Linked DNA regions of Homo sapiens: regions 1 and 2 are each linked to region 3. The links are contacts of gene promoters, found by promoter capture Hi-C in blood cells and fetal thymus (Javierre and others, 2016). All regions are on one chromosome and are shown on one strand. The core of a region is centred on a gene start or on the middle of the fragment in contact, and the rest is flanking DNA. Distances in the headings are between cores, read along the strand shown.

Region 1 (3,119 bases), core at 407-2,906, 130 kb before region 3:
GGCAGTAAAGCCCCACGTGCAGGAAGACAAACAGCTGCTCACTCATTATCCAAAGTATACTTTGTAAGAATTAGGGCATCAAAAATTGGATCCTAAGCACCAATATATATTAAAGTTCAGTACAACTTGTAGTGTTTAAGTACAAGAAATAAAAATTGAGCCTGAACTTTTGGCATATAGTGGGAAGAAATTAGGTTTACCGCTGTTAATAATTCAGAGTGCTTAGGAAAATCGGTTTTTATTTACTTATGTTAAAAATACTAAGGGTTCTGTAACCATTAAAAACTAAAATACTAACCTGTAGATGTTGAAAAAATCCTAGACACTAGTCTCTGCCACGTGACTGTTCTTCTTTTCTATTTATTTTACCCAATAATTAGGCTTTTACAATGTAAGTAATAAAGAGAAAAATCTCTAGTATCACTTTAGAGCACATTGATTCATAAATAGCCCATAAATTTTGTACTCAGCAACCCATAAAATACACATGCATGATTCACATAATCAAATAGTAACGAAAGTTACAAAATGAAAAGTGAAGCAGCTCTACCCCAAGTCCTTCCCCCAATATAACCATGAACAGTCTTAAATCTAATGCCGCTGTCTAAAACTGACTAGTTATTCAAATGAATCAATATTTTCCCCTTTCCAGAGGCAGAAATTAATACAGATTCAAGTGTTCACTATCAAGTCGGAATTGTTAATATGTGAAATACTACTGTTAAAGGCAGGAAAGGCTTTATTAAGGACAAGAAGACAAACTAGGAGAAGGAGCTACTCAAGACCTTCCGATTATCTTTACAAAAAGGCAACTACACCTAGAAGATTCTGCAGCCACACACATTCTGCCTTCACTTGAGGTCAACTGCCTTCACCAAGGTCAGATATTAGCAAAGGCTAACATTTATTCAGCTCTGTGTGTGCCAGGCATTTTATTAAGAACTTTTCATGCATCATCAGTTCTATGCCTTATAGCAACAATGCATGTAAGAACTTTTCATGTATCATTGCTTTTATGCCTCATGCAATACACTGTTGTCCCTGATTTCCAAATGTGGCTACTAAGGTTGAGGAGTGAAGTGTCCTTTGGCAGGGTGACACAGCTAGTACGTAGTGGAGTTGAGGTTCAGATTCTGGGCATCTGATTCCAGCACCCACCTTAATCATTGTTGTCTGGGATTTATTTATGCAAAAAGTTACAAATTGTATCTTAGGCTTTTAATTGTAAGCGCTGATTGAGAACCACTTCATGCCATTGACACAATGCTTCCTAATACTTTGGATCATAGATACCTTTGAAATTTCTGTTAAAAGCTATTAGAAGACCTACCTTCTTCCTAGAAAAATACATATTCAAACAGCTTTGCATATAAAACTCAGCATAGATGATATCTCTAGAGGTCCATTTATTCTAATTGCTAAGGAAATGAAATAACCTTTTTCCCCTACACCCAACTCCGAAGACCTGAAATAACATTTTAAACAGTTTTCCATCAAAAGAGGTTTGAAGACTTTGGTGTTTAAGAGATTAATGTGTTAGCCAGAACAACTCATTTCTCTACCAGTGTGTAGTCCATTTATCTTTAAAGATTTTCTATTGAATAATTTTGAAATTACTTTCTTAGTTTTCTTCATTAAAAACTAAGAAAATGCTTTGTTTATTATGAATTGCTATTTCTCTTGATTATTATTCTTGGAGAAAGTCTATCAGACGTAATTCTTCTGATTTGCTTCTAGGCTAGAGGAAAATGTGAAAGATGACAAATGAAAATTTCAAAGGTTGTCAGTAGTATGACTTCTTTTATCGTTTGTCATTATCACAAATATATCAACATAGGACTTTTAAAAGATATTTTGTACATATTGGGCCTTAGTAGGATTTTGCATGAATTTTTTTTTTCTTTTATGCCAAGAGAGAAAGAGCAAAGAAATAACCAAGGGTGATGTACTCGTATTGAAGGTTTACCAAATAAGGACTGCTTTTATTATGAACTATAGTCTATATTCTAAGTAAATCAATTTTTCTATTATGTGTTTTTTGTTCCTGCAGGCAAGATCTCTGAACTTTATGCAGAGGGTTCTTTTAAAAAAACAAAGTTGAATTTTTTTATTTCTTGGAATATTTTTTTTCATTGATTTCTCCCAAGTAGAGCAGATTCAAATCTCCTTTGTACCCTATGTCTTTTTTGTTTTGCTATAAGCTCAGTATTCCATTTCTACATTTTCCTTTCCTAGAACCAGTCAATAAATGACAAAAAAAAAAACAAAACAAAGTAAATCATGTGTTGTTGCAGTAGGAGTTCAAGGAAACCAAGGACAATCTTGTTTGTTTATTTGTTTTTTTGTTTGTTTTTTTTTTGAAACAGAGTTTTGCTCTTGTTGCCCAGGCTGGCATACAGTGGCGCGATCTTGGCTCACTACAACCTCTGCTTACCAGGTTCAAGCAATTTTCCTGCCTCAGCCTACCAAGTAGCTGGGATTACAGGCATGCACCACCTCACCTAGCTGATTTTTGTATATTTAGTAGAGACAGGGTTTTGCCATGTTGGTCAGGCTGGTCTCGAACTCCCGACCTCATGTGATCAGCCCACCTCGGCCTCCTAAAGTGCTGGGATTACAGGCGTGAGCCACCGTGCCTGGCAGACAGACAGTCTTGATGTGGGAACAGAGAAGGCTGGATAGGAGTTGGATAAGGCCATTTCAGATAAAGAGGGGGTGGCTTCACCCAAGGCAGGAAGTGGAACTGTGTGTAAGGGGGTCATGAGGACAAACTACATTTGTAAATAATGAGAAATAAGGGCTTGTGACAGTAAATATATTTGGTCTCTTTGCCTGGTTCCCAACACAGAGCTCCTGAATGTCGCAAATTCCTGAGTGATAGGAGCATCTTTTGTTCTAACTAGGACACTCTTAATGGGCTTCTGGGTAGCTTCAAGGTGGGGACTAGTCACCAAAAAGACCAAGCCATAATTAGAAATTTGGAACTTTCAGTCCCACCCTTTGACCTCTGGAGATTGGAAAGGGGCTGAAGATTGAGTTTAATCAGCAATCAGTCATGCCCTCATAATGGAACCTCTATACAAACCCTAACTGATGGCTGGAGTATGGGGAGAGTTCAG
Region 2 (3,583 bases), core at 675-3,174, 200 kb after region 3:
ATAACCTATAACCTATGTCTTCCTCTGCCAGATATATGCACCTGCCTGAAATGAGACCACAAAAGTGAAGAACAGAAAAGACAACCTCAATTAATTATATCATTTGAGCACTTAGGTCCAGCCATGTCTATTTCTAGACCTTTCAATATCATGGGGGTTAGTGGGGAGAAGCTTTTCCCTCCTTTAAGCTAACTTGAGTTAGGGCTGTCACTTGTAAGCAAGAGTCACTTGAGAGAGCCACCCAATTCCCACTGTTGGAATATAAAATCTATACAGCAATGACTCCCAAATGCCTACCTCCAGCACAAACCTCTGTCAAACCCCAGACCCATATAGACAACTGCCAAGTGGAAATCCCTACTTGGCTGTTTCAGATATCTCAAACTCCATGTGATCCAATACTATTTTCTTCTACAAACCAGCTCTCCCACCTCATTTTTCATATCTGTCACCCACATCTACCCTGCTTTCCAAGCTAGAAATCCAGGAGTTGTTCTTGCCAATCCCATTCCTTCTCTCATCCACGCTAGTTATCGCCTCCTATCCATTCCAGGCCCTAATTATCTGCCACCATCTTAACCCATTTATGCCTGAGGCTGCAATTTTTTGAATTTTTGCAATCAGACCTTGGTGATGACCTTGAGCAGGATATAAATAACTCCCACGTGCTTAGCGTTCCAATAGTGGAACACTAGGCATAAATGGGTTTAATCCGGGCTAGGCCAGAAAGACCTTCCTACAAGTTTGAACATCTTCAGTCTTCCTTTCTTCAAAATGATTTTCCAACATGTAACTAATCTCCCTAACTGCAAATGTGATTATAATATTTTATCCCTATCTCTAGCATACTCCTGTCCTCCTTCATAAGTCAACAGCCAATTATATACAGCTGGATCAAGAGCCAAGCTCCACTGTTCCAGACTTTAACAGTATAACAAATCTGTGCCATAAGAAAGGAAGGCTCATCAGAAATATAAAACTATAAAAGAGTAACAAAGTCTACAACATCAGAGTAAATAAAAGATACTCAAAGATAATTTACTCATCTATTCAATGTCTACTCATTAGTTATATATTAAACTGCCCATACGAACTGGCTTAGGGACCACAGGGGCCACCCTGAGATGGAGTCTACTGATCATCTGATCTCCCTATGCCCCTAACTAGTGTTCTTTTCAAAAAACACTACTGGGGATTTCCAGGCACATCCAAGAGCTTTGATTAGGGAGAGAAACACTATTCATCAATTCTAAGATGCATCCATTTTTCATATTTTAGCATCTCCGGAATTGGGGTGCACCTTACAATCAATGGCTTCTTACAACTAGAAGCATATTTTAAGTGGTCTGTAACACTACTGTGTATCTTACAATGGACATAACTCAATGCAAGTCAACATTTAATCTTGTGTTAAAAAGTTGGTCCAACTTGGTCAATATGGACCTTGTGATGTTAAAAAGACATCCTAAAGCCTAAAAACTAGTAAAAGGTGGGAAAGTAGAAAAGGAAAAGAAATGGTTCCTACTTCAAAATTTAGTGTGATAGGAAACCCATTTTCCTTTCTCTCCATGGTTCGCTGCTCCTAAGATCCAATAGTCAGATCAGGACAGTTCAACAGCTACTGTTAGGCTAGACAGGAGCCTTTCCCCATTTATTCCTTTTAATATGCAAGAAAAGTCCGTTACAGACCCACCCTGCAAACTAGTAGTGAAACTAATATTTGTATAAAAACTGCTATAAAGGCCAGCCACAGTGCCTCACCTGTGTAACCCCAGCACAGGGAGGCTGAGGCGAGCGGATCAACTGAGGTCAGGAGTTTAAGACCAGCCTGGCCAACATGGCAAAACCCCACCTCTACTAAAAATACAAAAATTAGCCAGGCGTGGTCCCAGCTACCTGGGAGGCTGAGGCAGGAGAATCCCTTGAACCCAGGAGGCAGAGGTTGCAATGAGCTGAGCTCACGCCATTGCACTCCAGCCCAGGCGACAGTGCGAGACTCTGTATCAAAAAAAAAAAAAAAAAAAAAAAGAAAGAAAGAAAGAAAGAAAGAAAAAACAATAAGGTATTAAAAAAAAAAAAAAAAAAAAACAGGTAAATCTGAGGCAAATACCACAGAAAATATTTCATTTAATGGAAGACCTAGGAAACTTCTGAGTGGCGAAGTGGTAAGAACTGGGCTTACAGATTAATTTAGGCAGAAATACATAAGATTAGATAAAGGAGAAAAGTGAAGGCAAGAAAATCATAACATTAGTCCAGGTGGGATGAGAACTTGATTTAGAGTTAGGGGGTGGGGGTGGAGTCGCGGGGTGGTGGGGGGAGAACTACGTGAAAGCCAAATAACACTAGATTTGAAAATAAATTCCTGAAAAAAATGTGAAACATTAAAATTCATATGAGAATCAGAAAATCGACACAAACCAACAGCTATTAAAGAAATTGAAGTGTTACTCAAAGTCCTCTCCAGAAAAAAGATCTAGGCCTAAATGGTCACATAGGGGAGGTCTTCCAAACTTTCAAGGAACAGATAATCCCAGTCTAAAATGATCCTGAAAAAGAGAAAAAGAAGGAAAGCTGCCCAACTCGTTTTATGATTTGACTACTACCTTCACACCAATATGAATTCAGAATTGCCCCACAGTTAGCAAGAATAGAGAGCAGAAGAGTTACAATATCATAAAGCAGAATCAACAGATGTTGGCTACAGACAAGATATGATGAAATGGGAAAAGGTTTGGGTTTGGTATGACATCAACAAAAATAAAGAACACCAAAGAGGCAAGTTTGCTAAGGAAAAGCAGCTCAGAACAATCAGGTACAGATATGTAGAAAGCAACTGAATAAAAAAGAAAAAACAAAACAAACAAACAAAAAAACGTGATTCAGAAGACACATAAACAAAGAATTGAGAATTATTCCAACAGAAAGGTCTGAACAATCATTCTAAGGGACTAGAGACATAGAGAAAAGTGATCTGAAAAGTGAAACTTGGAGAACGCATATTAAAGAGGAAAGAAGAAACAGAAGGCAGAAAAGTGGCGGAGAGGAACAAAGTCAGTATAATGTCACAAAAGGCCCCTCTTCATCTAGTTAATAGTTAACTCTTGCTCATCCTTCACAATCTGCCTGGGTTCCAACAAAGCAATTTTAAGGTATCTTTCCCAGATTCTCCCACCACCACAAGCACCAGATCAGGTCTCCATTTGAAGTTCTTATAATATTCTGCACCTTAATTAAAATCACAATTATATTTAACTAGAGACTTTATTTTTCAATAAGTATTTCCCCACTAGACTTTAAGCTCCATGAGGGAAGGATCTGTTGTATCTTACTGCCTTGGACCCTGTGTTAGAATACAGCGAGTATAGATGAATGAAACCCAAGGAGAGGCATCTGAAAATGTGAAGTCGATGTTAAATCTTACAGAAAACTCAAGGAGAGGACTTAGAAAAAGGTAGTTAAATGTGTTGATTAGGTTATAGTTCCTTGTGAAGGTGAAATCCAGATAACAAGGGGTTAAGAAATGAGTGGCTAGCCACCAACCAGGCAAAGGCAGGAAAAGCAGACTACACTTGGCAATCTC
Region 3 (3,395 bases), core at 172-2,671:
CTGACACCCAGAGGCCCCGAGGAGGCCAAAGACAAACACACATAGGTGTGCACAGGGCATTGTGGGTGCTCCAGGGTCTGGAGACCCCACCTTGATAGCCAGGGCCTCGCCCCCTCCCAAAATGCCTCCCTGGGGCTGGGGAGTAAGGTCTGGCGAAGGTAACTGGGCACTCACCCTTTGGCCACCACACTGTCCCACCCTGCCATGCCCCACTTACCCACATACATGACCCCCTCCTTGGTCTTCTCAGCTGCTTCCGTCACCCCCTGCTTGGTCTTTTCCACCGCACCCACCACGCCCTCCTTGGCGATGGAGAAGCCCTTCTTGAAGACATCCATGGTGGGTGTGCAGGGTTGTGCTGCTGCAGGCAGGACGGAGCTGGATCTCCCTGCGAGCTGCGGGCTTGAGCTGGCTCGAGTGCTGCCGCAGCGGCTGTCCCCGATGCCTCCTATTGACGCCGATGAAATATTGATGCGGAGGCCAGCTGGAGCCCAGCCAGCCCTGCGTGCAGTGGGGGCGGGGAGGGAGGGAGGGAGGGAAGGAGGTTCAGCCTCACCTTCCTCCAGGATAGGAAGGCAGAGACCAGGCTCCCTGGGCTCCTGCTGGCTCAGCCCAGCTCTCCTGCCCCGTGCCCTCCATGGGCTGGAGGGGGCTGGCCACCTCCCAACCTGTCCCTCATTCATTTACTGCCCTGCCCACCCATGGGGGCAGCCCTGGCTGGGTGCTCTTGGCCCCAGGGGTGCTGTGTCTATGCTGCACCTGGACAGACAGGCACAGAGAGGGGAGGCGCCTTGGCCATTGTCCCCAGCTTCCTAGGTAGGGGTCAGGGCCACATAGGCCTGTTAGGTGAGAGCAGCCAACCTCCCGCGGCCTGGGCTGTGCAGCTACCCACCAGCATCCTGGATGCCGCTGGACCCTGGGCTGCCATGAAACCGGTTGGAGGATCTGAGGTGGGTGGGGGTGGGGAAATGAAGGACTTCCTCATGCCTTGGCCTCTGGCTGCATGCTGTGTGACCCCAGAATAGTCCCTTCCCTTCTTTGAGCCGCCCAGTGCTGAAGGTGCTGAGGAGGCATGAATTGCCCCCCATTTCCTGGCCAGCAGTGTGGATGGGCAGCAGGTCCCCTGAGATGGACCTGACCACTTCCTGTGGCCCCACCTCGAAGTCCACGCTCTTTTCATGGCTCCCAGGGAGCAGGTTCCCATAAGGATGCATTTGGTGGGGCCACCCCATGTCTACCACATTCCCAGAGTCCCTGAGCCAAGTCCTCAGGGACAGGAACTGGCTTGTGTGGTTGGCGGCCCCTGTGGGGCCAGCCAGGGTAGTTGGGGGGCAGGACAAGACCCACCGGGTAGGCCGGCCCAGGCCACTTCCTCTCTTTGTTGTCCTCGTATTTTCTTTTCCTCCTGAGATTTAACTTGAAGACAACGTCACTAGCAGTTTCTGGAGCTACTTGCCAAGGCTGAGTGTGAGCTGAGCCTGCCCCACCACCAAGATGATCCTGAGCTTGCTGTTCAGCCTTGGGGGCCCCCTGGGCTGGGGGCTGCTGGGGGCATGGGCCCAGGCTTCCAGTACTAGCCTCTCTGATCTGCAGAGCTCCAGGACACCTGGGGTCTGGAAGGCAGAGGCTGAGGACACCGGCAAGGACCCCGTAGGACGGTAAGAGGGCCTGGACCTTGGCAGAGGTCATGGAGTAGGATCTGAGTCCCAGCTCAGCTAGAGCAGAGCCTCTCTAGACCTCACTGGGGTCCCATCTGTGAAATGGGCTAATAGTATCTATCTCTGGGCCATCTGTGAGGCTGAAAAAGTAGTCTGGACTGGGTGTTTCAGGATCCACCTAAGAATTGCAGGGAGTTCCCTGTCGGAGCCATGGCAGGGAATGGGGCTTGGGGGGCTGGCAGGGAGGCACAGCTCCTACCATCAATCACCCAGCATGGGGCACTGGGGGACTGTGGCTGAAGCCATTGCCAGCTGGCCTGGCTATGCCTCCTGTTCTTCCAAAGAAATCAATTCTGAAAGCTGAGACCCAGCAAGGCTGCCCTGAGATTTTGATCTGAGTTCCCTGGGGACCTGACTCTGACTGCCCAGCAGTGAGCAGAGACGGCCCCCTGCTCTCCAGAGCACAGTCCAGGGCGCTCTGCCTCAGCGACCCAGCAAGTGGGCAGGATGGTCTTGCAACTGGACCCAGAACATAGCTTTCCAACATTCTATGTGTACAGAGCCAGGGCCCATCCTGCTGATGAGGTGTTGGGCCTGTAAGTCCCCCCTCATCTCCAACTGCCCCTCAGTCAGAGCAGCAGGTGCTGTTTACGGGGCCCCCAGTCTCAGGGCCAGGCACCTTGCCACGTGTATCTCAGTTCATCCCTCCAACAGCCCCACTTACAGAGGAGGAGCCTGAGGCTCAGAGAGGCTGAGGGGCTTGCCCAAGGCCACACAGCTAAGGAGCAGGATCTGAGTTTGACTTCAGAGCTCATAGTGAACTCTCTGCAGCACTTGGAGCCAGCCCCAGCCCCCAGATGCTCCTACCTCCACCCTCCTGCCCCCACACACCAGACCTGTTTGGCTAAGGGCATCTACATGGATTTAGGGAGTGAGGGGGGGGCCAACTTACACTTCTGTGCGGTGTATGAGAGCCACCATCGCAGAGCGGACCTGCCTGGGATAGGTCTCATTTGGCTTCTGAGTTGCAGGTTTGTTGGGTGCTTTCCTGAAAACAGATTTGACCAGGGAGGGGCAAGAGGCCCCTTAGTGAGGGTCTGGTGGCAGTGGCGTGGGGAACAGTGGCTGAGCAGTTGGCCATGGAGAAACCTCATTCCCGCCTGCCCCCAACTCTGCTCAGGGCTGGGAGGTGCAGGTGATTCTCGGTGGTGGGGCGGCAAGGGGAGCAGGGGGCGGGGGAGGGGCGGGCTGGATCCAGCCACTCCGCTCTGATTTCAGGACCAAGGAAGCTCCACGCCTTAGTCTCAGGCCACCTTCCGCCTTTTGATGAAAGGGAGGATGAGAGGACCCGGTGGACGGGAGGGAGGAGGGAGCTGCTCCTCTTCCTCCCCACCCCCTTGGTTGTGGGAGAGACATTGCTCCCTTAGCCCCAAGGAGTGAGGGTTTGGGAACTGCTGATGGGCAGCCCTGCAGGGGCCCCGCAGTCCTTCTCTGGGGTTCTGAGTGGGAGGGTGCATGTACCTGGCCCAGGAATGCCCAGGTGTCCCAAGCCTGGAAGCCCCCTGCCTGCAGGGCTCTCCTTCCCACATCCAGAAGCTGCAGTCTCCACAGGGCAAGTCCATGCTCTCTCACCAAACCCGGATGGGCTGGTGAGAAAGGAAGGAAACGCGCGGCTTCCTGGGCTGATTACTTCCCTTGCTCCTGTGACCAGGGAGGTGGAAGCGTGCTCCAGACCCT

The links. Contacts are between HindIII fragments. The CHiCAGO score rates a contact against its expected background, and 5 or more counts as called.
Region 1: a contact is called between a fragment that was not itself captured here and the fragment with the promoter of MMRN2 in region 3, in 1 of 17 cell types (M0 macrophages). The highest score is 5.8, in M0 macrophages.
Region 2: a contact is called between a fragment that was not itself captured here and the fragment with the promoter of MMRN2 in region 3, in 4 of 17 cell types (naive CD4 T cells, non-activated CD4 T cells, total CD8 T cells and 1 more). The highest score is 5.9, in naive CD4 T cells.

What each region holds. Positions count from the first base shown.
Region 1 is chr10:87,087,322-87,090,440 of GRCh38, reverse strand. The region is part of intron 1 of GLUD1 (glutamate dehydrogenase 1); the gene reads left to right. Among named protein-coding and RNA genes, the nearest start is that of GLUD1, 6.0 kb to the left of the region's middle. The HindIII fragment of the contact is 6,569 bases long and covers 1-3,119 here.
Region 2 is chr10:86,758,694-86,762,276 of GRCh38, reverse strand. All of the region lies in intron 1 of BMPR1A (bone morphogenetic protein receptor type 1A), which reads right to left. Among named protein-coding and RNA genes, the nearest start is that of BMPR1A, 3.9 kb to the right of the region's middle. The HindIII fragment of the contact is 3,501 bases long and covers 174-3,583 here.
Region 3 is chr10:86,955,641-86,959,035 of GRCh38, reverse strand. MMRN2 (multimerin 2) reads left to right here and starts at 1,421. Exons shown (of 7, transcript NM_024756.3): 1 at 1,421-1,658. The coding sequence starts at 1,495. SNCG (synuclein gamma) reads right to left here and starts at 437. Exons shown (of 5, transcript NM_003087.3): 1 at 218-437. The coding sequence starts at 338. RefSeq lists enhancers at 1-147, 3,150-3,395. The HindIII fragment of the contact is 12,184 bases long and covers 1-3,395 here.